3 separate regions of the Homo sapiens genome follow, and all the other regions are linked to region 1. Evidence: promoter capture Hi-C in 16 types of primary human blood cells and fetal thymus (Javierre and others, 2016). All regions are on one chromosome and are shown on one strand. The core of a region is centred on a gene start or on the middle of the fragment in contact, and the rest is flanking DNA. Distances in the headings are between cores, read along the strand shown.

Evidence for each region. The method cuts DNA at HindIII sites, captures the fragments that hold promoters and counts their contacts. A CHiCAGO score of 5 or more calls a contact.
Region 2: a fragment that was not itself captured here is called in contact with the fragment with the promoter of GTPBP4 in region 1 in 9 of 17 cell types (monocytes, M2 macrophages, M1 macrophages and 6 more); the score reaches 20.0 in monocytes.
Region 3: a fragment that was not itself captured here is called in contact with the fragment with the promoter of GTPBP4 in region 1 in 1 of 17 cell types (monocytes); the score reaches 7.0 in monocytes.

What each region holds. Positions count from the first base shown.
Region 1 is chr10:986,996-989,715 of GRCh38, reverse strand. It overlaps GTPBP4 (GTP binding protein 4), which reads right to left and starts at 1,282. Exons shown (of 17, transcript NM_012341.3): 1 at 1,189-1,282. The coding sequence starts at 1,236. It also overlaps a transcript of LARP4B not described here. The HindIII fragment of the contact is 2,419 bases long and covers 94-2,512 here.
Region 2 is chr10:841,622-844,321 of GRCh38, reverse strand. It overlaps LARP4B (La ribonucleoprotein 4B), which reads left to right. Exons shown (of 18, transcript NM_015155.3): 7 at 1,254-1,390. Among named protein-coding and RNA genes, the nearest start is that of LARP4B, 89 kb to the left of the region's middle. The HindIII fragment of the contact is 4,915 bases long and covers 1-2,700 here.
Region 3 is chr10:801,837-804,536 of GRCh38, reverse strand. No RefSeq gene overlaps it. Among named protein-coding and RNA genes, the nearest start is that of DIP2C, 110 kb to the right of the region's middle. The HindIII fragment of the contact is 230 bases long and covers 1,316-1,545 here.

The DNA of each region.
Region 1 (2,720 bases), core at 33-2,532:
CAGAACAACTGTCAGGAAGAAATAAGAAATGGTGGAGAGAAGTGGGGAAACAACTTTTGCTATGAAGGTAAAATACGAGACTCCCACAAAGCTTTCCAAGGCAAGCTCATCCCGTCCTTGAGACCTGAAGAAAAGGAGGCACTGACGAGGGGAAAACAGTCACTCTGCAGGGACTTCAGTAACTCCCTCTCGTGCAGGAGTCCCTGGGAGGCTCCAGTTGCCCGTCAATGTCTGTGTAATTGCGACCCAAATCGAATGTTCACTACATAAAAACGTGACTTCTTAAAAGTCCTAATACTAGGGCCGGGCGCAGTGGCTCACGCCTGTAATTCCAGCACTTTGGGAGGCCGGGGCGGGAGGATCACCCGGGATCAGGAGTTCGAGGCCAGCTTGGCCAACGTGGTGAAACCCCGTCTCTACTAAAAATACGAAAATTAGCTGGGTGTGGTGGTGCACGACTGTAATCCCTGTTACTCGGGAGGCTGAAGCAGGAGAATCGCTTGAACGCGGGAGGTGGAGGTTGCAGTGAGCCGAGACTGCGCTCCAGCCTGGGAAACAAGAGCGAAAAACTATGTCTCAAAAAAAAAAAAAAAAAAAAAAAGTCCTAATACTCAACACTTGTTGACTCATTCTTGCCACACCAACCAACGCTGTAAAAATTTAGTCTGGGCCTACTATGGTCTGAAAAGGAACAGGTATTCCCAAATCTAACAGTGAAAGAGAATGACTTAAAAATTATGAAACGTTAAATCACGAGAACAACGAACCCAGGATTCCTGAGAGGGGAGGGGGCTACGCCAAACCCAGAATCCGAAGGCTCATCACGGACCACGGAACGCTTCCTCCCTCACATGTCGGGGTCCCCCTCCACTCGCCCACATCGTCACCCGGGGCCCCTCCAGGGAACCCAACTCTGGGTGTACCCCCATCTCTGGGGGCCCTCAGTCTTTGGGTGGACCACGGTCTTAGGTGGACCCCGGTCTCTGGGGGATCCGATCTCTGGTGGACCCCGGATTCTGCTGGGGGAGGGGAAATGATCCCGAGTACGCGGCCAGACGGTCAGGCCCAGGAGCGGGGGATGGGCGAGCGGAAGGCGACCGCTCTCCCACGGCTACAGGCCCGGACCCTCCCCGGGGACCCAGCTGAGGAGAACGCGAAAGTTGCAGTGGCCCTCCCGGGGCCGCCTACCTTGGCGGACGGCACCACCGTAATTTTCTTGAAGTTGTAATGTGCCATGCCGGCAGCCGTATGCACGCGGGTACTTGGCACTCCCGGAACTTCCGCCGTCGGGCGCAGGTGGGACTTCCACTGTCGGGCGGTTGAGGTACGTCACTTCCGGGAGCTCAGCCAATCGTGTTCTGCGTGCTCTACGGCGCTTTCCGCGTCGCACAGCGCACCCGCCCGGCTTGGAGGTCAGCCACGGAGGGCGTGTGAGGGCCTCAGGAGCGAGGGTACAGAGGAGAGGACGCCCGGGTTTTAGGGGGAGCGCGGAGACTAAATTCCTGCTGAGTAAAGCGGGGGTTTCCGACAGACTGCCCTGCGGGTTTCTGGAGCGGGTTCAGGCCCCCAGCCACGCGCCCTGGGCCAGGGTTGGAGGGTCCGGGGTCTTGGGATTTGGGAGTTGCGGGGCTTAGGAGTCCAGAGGGTCTAGGGGATCCGGGAGTCTGGGGGTCCTGGGTCGCGGCGAGCCCCGCAAAGGAGGAGGAAGCCGCGCGTGCGGGGCGTGCCCAGCCTCTGGGTGTGGAGCAGATGACGCCCCTACCCCGGCCTCGCGCGTGGGACTTGATCCCGGGCCGTGGTGAGGAGGCCCTCGCGGCTTCCCTGCAGCCCTGCTTTCTCGTGCTTGTTAAATCCCAAAACGGGCGGAGAAGGGAAAGCCTGATCTAAGGCAAAAGAGGTGCAGCTGGTTCCGCGCAGTGCCTTAGGAGAGCCCAGGGAACAGTTGCGAGAGACAGTCCTGTGGGGTCCAACTGAGGAGAAGGTTGATGAGGATGGAGCCTTTACTGCTTTTATGTTTGTGAATAGAGTGGCCGCTCCCTTTGGGAACCCAGGGCCACATCCCTTAAATTAAACGTTAGGTAGGGCTGACTCAGTCAAGCAGTGTTCAGAGCTGCTGACTATATATTAACTCGTTTAATTTCTGCAACAGCCTCATGAAGTGCATGGGGAAACAAAGGCACACAAGGCTCGAAAGCACCCCGTGGTTGTGCAGCTGACAAGCTAACAGGCAGCAGAGGTGGGCTTTGAACCCAGGCAGCCTGGCTCCAGCAAACCTGCTTCTAACCATTAGCTATACTGCTTCTCACGCATCTGGGATGCCCCCCACTCTCCAATCCTTTTAAACAAGTCCTATTATTCTTACGCGAAAATACCTCTCATAAATTCCCAGCATTCCAATATTGAAAATCATTCTGGGTCATGCTTTTCTCATCTATTAACTATGCTTCCATTTTTGTGTCACAAGGCGGATAAGCATACCTCCTACATCTTTGTGGCACTTCTAAAGGAAGCTTCTAGGGTAATTAGGATTTGCTGGCTATGATCATTTGCTAAACCACAGGACAGTTCTGGCCACCATTTCCGAGATTAGCAAAGCTATGCTCATACTTATTGCCCTTTCTTTTAGGTTCTTGTATGTTTCCTCAACCTCTCCCACTTTCTCTCACTCTGATATAGCCAGTTCCTCTTTTTCTTGTAATCCGGTATTTAGATAAGTCCAG
Region 2 (2,700 bases), core at 196-2,695, 150 kb after region 1:
GCTGTTCCACGATTGGAGTCTGAGAATACCGCACCATGACATGGTAGACGCAAAAGGTGCAGGGGCACCAGTGGAACGCCCTAGTGGAGCACAAGTGTGAGCTCTCTGCCACTCACATCCATGTGTAGCCCCATGGGGCCAGAATCAGCTACACCTGGAAGATGGCCGAGATGAGGGTGGAGCAGGGCCTCCTCCTGCATGGCCTCCGTTTGATCGGCAGTCATGGGCCTTCACCGAGGGACACTGAGCAGAGGCCCCAGGAACCCAGCACTGTGCTCAGTTTTGAAATGTTTCTTAGGGCCTTGTTCACTACATTACATGATGCCTTGAGAATTCACAGGAAACATTGATCTTTGGCCAAAACACCAGAAAATAGCTCATCATGGCCCAAACTGCTGATGATTTGTGGCTCACCTTTGGATTTTGTGGGTAAAGTTACTGTTTCCTTCTTTTTAATTCTGGCTGCTAGGAAGCCAGGGCTGGATATAGGCCCTCTGGTGAGTGTTCCAGAGTCTACAGGAGGAATTTTGGGTATGACCTTATCCTGGCCTTTTTATGTTTTCCTTTCTTGTTCATTGAGCTGGATTTCTTTACTTTAAATTGTTTTTCTTTCTTTTTTTTTGAGTCAGAGTTTCACTCTTGTCGCCCAGGCTAGAGTGCAGTGGTGTGATCTTGGCTCACTGTAACCTCCACCTCTCGGGTTCAAGCGATTCTCCTGCCTGAGCCTCCCGAGTAGCTGGGATTACAGGTGCCCGCCACCATGCCTGGCTAATTTTTGTATTTTTAGTAGAGATGGGGTTTCACCATGTTGGTCAGGCTGGTCTTAAACTCCTGAACCCAGATGATCTGCCTACCTTGGCCCCCCAAAGTGCTGGGATTCCAGGCGTGAGCCACCGTGCCCGGCCTAACAAAATTGTATGCATTTTTAATAAACTCTTAAGCTACTTCTTAGGACAAAAATGACAGCTATAAATAATTACATCTTATTTAAAAATAACCATCTTCTCATAAATTTTGATTGTAGAAAGTACAGTATACTTTTACTTTTGCACTCCCTGCCTCTCCAAGGCCGAGATTTTGCAAAAATGTACCTGAGGCTGGAGAGACAGCAAATAACAGATGGGTCCTGGGCTGAGATTTAACTCCAAAGCAATACCATGCCACACTCACGCCTCTTGTGAAACTGGAATTACAGTAGGTGAAACTTCCTTTTAAAGAAATACTGATTAAAAGAGATTGTTTTCTTTCAACAGGGAGAACCTTGCTAGTGACATGTATCTTATATCACAGATGGATAGTGACCAGTATGTGCCAATCACAACGGTGGCTAACCTCGACCACATCAAGAAGCTCAGCACTGATGTGGACTTGATTGTGGAAGTGCTAAGATGTAAGTAAATGACAATTTAAATTAATAATACTTGTCCTTAGAGTATTTGTCTTATCAGCATGAACCTTTAAATCTATAGCCATCAAACGTTAAGGTCCTTGATGGCGAATCAGATTCTTTTCTGGCCTTCCGTTCCTTTCTGCCCAGGTCCAATAATTCTGGAGTAGCGCCTGATAGTCCCTGGGAATGCCAGTTGAACCCGTTATGAAACCTCAAACAAGTTTTGGGACATATGAAGTAGAAAAGAATCTTGTTAATGGGGATTTTAAAGATAGCTGTTTCATTCATGAAAAACAAAATAAAAATAACATTTATAGTTAAAGTAAAATACACTTTAGTTACAGTTTTACCACTAGAGGTTTTTCTTTCAAATTGCAACTTCCTGTTTATGTTCGGATGAAATAATTATTGCAATTTTTCTTAAAATTATGTTGTGGGCCAGGTGTGGTGGCTTACGCGTGTAATCCCAGCACTTTTGGAGGTCGAGTTGGGCGGATCATGAGGTCAGGAGATTGAGACTGTCTTGGCCAACATGGTGAAACCCTGTCTCCACTAAAATACAAAAAATTAGCTGGGCGTGGTGGTGTGTGCTTGTAATCCCAGGTACTTGAGAGGCTGAGGCAGGGAAATCACTTGAACCCAGGAGGCGGAGGTTGCAGTTAGCTGAGATTGTGCCATTGCACTCCAGCCTGGCGACAGAGATAGACTCCATCTCATAAAAAAAAAAAAAAATTATGTTGTGAGTGAAGTTGTTTCTTTGAAGTTTGGCAACATCAAACAGTGTTTAAGCATTAAGTGTGGATGGTGCCCCTACATAGTTTTGAGTGATTGGACATTGCTAAGCCTGACTTCAAGTCTCAATTAAGTCCACTGCCTATACTCACATAGAAGGGTTTTCACGTTGTCCCTGGCTTATCTGTACTGACGACAGTCTGTGCAGGTTTTTTTTTTTTCTTGTATGAATTTGACTTTACAGTAGTATAAAAAAGTGAGCATCTTACATGAGAACTTAGTTGGATTTTCTTTTCACAAATAAAATATAAAATAAAAGTTTTATGTTTTTCTGTTTTTAGACAAATAGCATGGGTTATTAAATTATTGGAGACAGTGAAAAAACTGACAAACATAATTACCATTGACTGTGAGTTCTGAGAGCGGCACTGCTGTCTCCCAGGATGGCGCCGTGCTCCCTGGTGTCATCATGCAGAACAGAAGCTGTTGTCTGTGCCAGCTGAATTGGGCCCCATCTTTGAAAGGCCAGCAGCATTCTTGTCCCTGTTTGTACTCTGAAGTCTTTTTGGTTATGATTA
Region 3 (2,700 bases), core at 181-2,680, 190 kb after region 1:
GCAGCCAGAGACCTCAGGGTGGCGCCTGGTGGAGGGACCTGCTGGGGAGGTTACCCTTCCTCAGGGCACCCACCATCCCCGGCGTAGGTCTACAGGGTCCTCCCTGAGGAGCCAGGGCCGGGCTCATCTGTGTCACATCATGCCTGCTGCTCTGCTGTCGCACTGGAGCGGCAGAGGCAGAGCCCGCCCCACCCTGCAGCTCCGTGTGACCCCGGCTGTGACCTCCCGGGTGGGTGGCCCTGCCGCAGGAGAGCCACTTTCAGAGATGCCCTGAGTGATCGTCACCAGCTGCATCCTGCAAACTTCATCTTGCTGTCCCTGTGGCTTGGAGAGCCCAGTCAGCTTTGCTTGTAAACATACATGTTACTTACAGTTGTATTTGGTCATGCCAGATGAAATTACTGTTTTTAGAGGTCAAAGTGAGCAAGTAGCAACTTTATATGGTTCCAGCTAATATTTATGTTACATTTATGTTCTGATGAAACACTTTTGTGCTACTGACCCATTTTTGTGGATGACTGCAGAAAATATACTGAAACTTAATGATGACAATGAAAACCTCAAACCTAAATGTAAAATAAAAAACATGAAAAAATGGTGGCAGAGCTCACCATCTTAAATGCTTTAAGAACATAGTATTTCTGTAAAAATCATGATTTTTACATTTCAAGTTTGTTAAATTTTTTGCTTCTTCCTTCTAAACTACAGGCGGCTCACCCACCAACCCTGTGTTCACTCCCACTGGCCACGAATGGGAGGGAAGGTGGCGTGGCCCCTCTGCACAGGACTGGCCCTCCCTCCCAGCAGGGCTGAGCCTGCAGAGGGCACAGAGTGAGCTGGGGGGTGCCCTGCCAGTGACTCAAGTTGGGAGGGGCCCTGCGTGGCAGAGTCTAAGGGGCCACCTGTCCTAGAAACATGCACATCTCGTGGGCTGCTAGTGCAGAGCCCCGAGGAGCTTCAAGGTGAGAAAGGCCAGAGCATGCTCCCAGCCCAGGACCGCCTCGGTGCCCACACCTCCCTTCTGTGCACAGACAGGACAGGGCAGGACAGCCGATGGGAGGTGTGGAGAGGTGGGGATCATGGGCCCTACCCGTCTAGACAGCAGGAACCTAGGTGGACCCTCCACGTCTCCAGGAGAAGCCGCCTTCGTTTCCTGAACAGATGGCCCCACCCTCGTGTCCTTCGCCCGCCTGACCTCTGCTTTGGCAGGAGGAGGTATTTCCTGCCCTGTTTAGATGCCATTCGAGCCCGAAAGACCGGACCTGGAGAGACAGGGCTCGGGGAAGACTGGGTCAGGGTGGGGAGGAGACAAGCTTCACGGTGTGCTGGCCGTTCCATGGGAGGAAAACCGCCAACCCCCCTCTTGGAACTGCCATATGGGCTGCAAGATGGCTGCAGCCTGGATGCCGAGCTGGGCCTGTGGGAGCCAGCCCCACCGGGGTGCGCAGGCCTTCCTGCAGGTCAGCAAGCCGGCCGGTGAGTGCCAGGCAGACACCCCCACAGGCAAGAACCCCAGGCCCTCTTCTCAGTAAACCCAGAGAAGCTTCCAGCCCCACTCTGGAGGGGCTCCTGCAGTGTGAGTGGGAGCGTCCTGTTACCCTAGAAAAGCCCAACAGGAGACAGGGGAAGCGATTTTTGAAATATTTTATTTGACTCTGCCCAAAATAGGACCATTTCAACACAATCTATGTAAAACATGATGAAGGAGACAGTTTGTGTTGTGTGGCCGTGACTGTGTCAGACGGCACGGGGCTGAAGGGTGGTCCTGGCTGCTACAGGCCAGAGCTGTGTCCTGGGGTCTTGTGAGACCTGGGGCAGCACACCGGGTTCACGCCCCTGGAGGCCTGAGGCTCGTCATCCTTGTCCCTGGCTCACAGGCTGGAAGTTGTGGGTAGAGTGGCTAATTGCTGTGGTTCCACACTTCTGTCCTGGGGACATCGGAGTACTGCTGGCTTACTGTGCACAGCTGATCCCCAAAGGACTCTGATGTTTGCAGCCACGTGGGACGGGGTGGAGTGTTCATTTCTACATTTTATTTTGTAGGATGGCGTCTCCCTGTAGGCCAGGACCGCAGGGCCCACATTCCCACCAACGGTGTATAAGCATTCCCTTTTCTCTGCAGCTTCCCAGCATCTGTTGTTTTTTGACTTTTTAATAATAGCGATTCTGGCTGGGCACAATGGCTCACATCTGTAATCCCAGCACTGTGGGAGGCTAAGGCAGAAGGATTGCTTGAGCCCAGGAGTTTGAGACCAACCTGGGCAACATAGCAAGGCCTCGTCTCTACAAAAAATAAAAATAATTAGCTGGGTGTGGTGGCACACACCTGTAGTCCCAGCCATTTAGGGGGTTGAAGTGAAAGGATCCTTTTAAGCCCAGGAGGTGAAGGCTGCACTGTGCTGTGATCGTACCACTGCTTTCCAGCCTGGTCAACAGACCAAGACCCTGTCTCAAAAAAAACCTCAACATCTGAAAGCATAGCCATTCTGACTGGTGTGAGATGGTATCTCATTGTGGTTTTGACTTGCATTTCTCTGATGTTTCGTGATGTGGAGCATTTTTTCACATTTGTTGGTCACTTGTGTCTTCTTTTGAGAAGTGTCTGTTTATGTCTTTTGCCCATTTTTAAATTGGTTTATGTGTTTTTTGCTTGTTGATTTCTTTTTTTATAGATTCTGGATATTAGATATTTGTAGAATG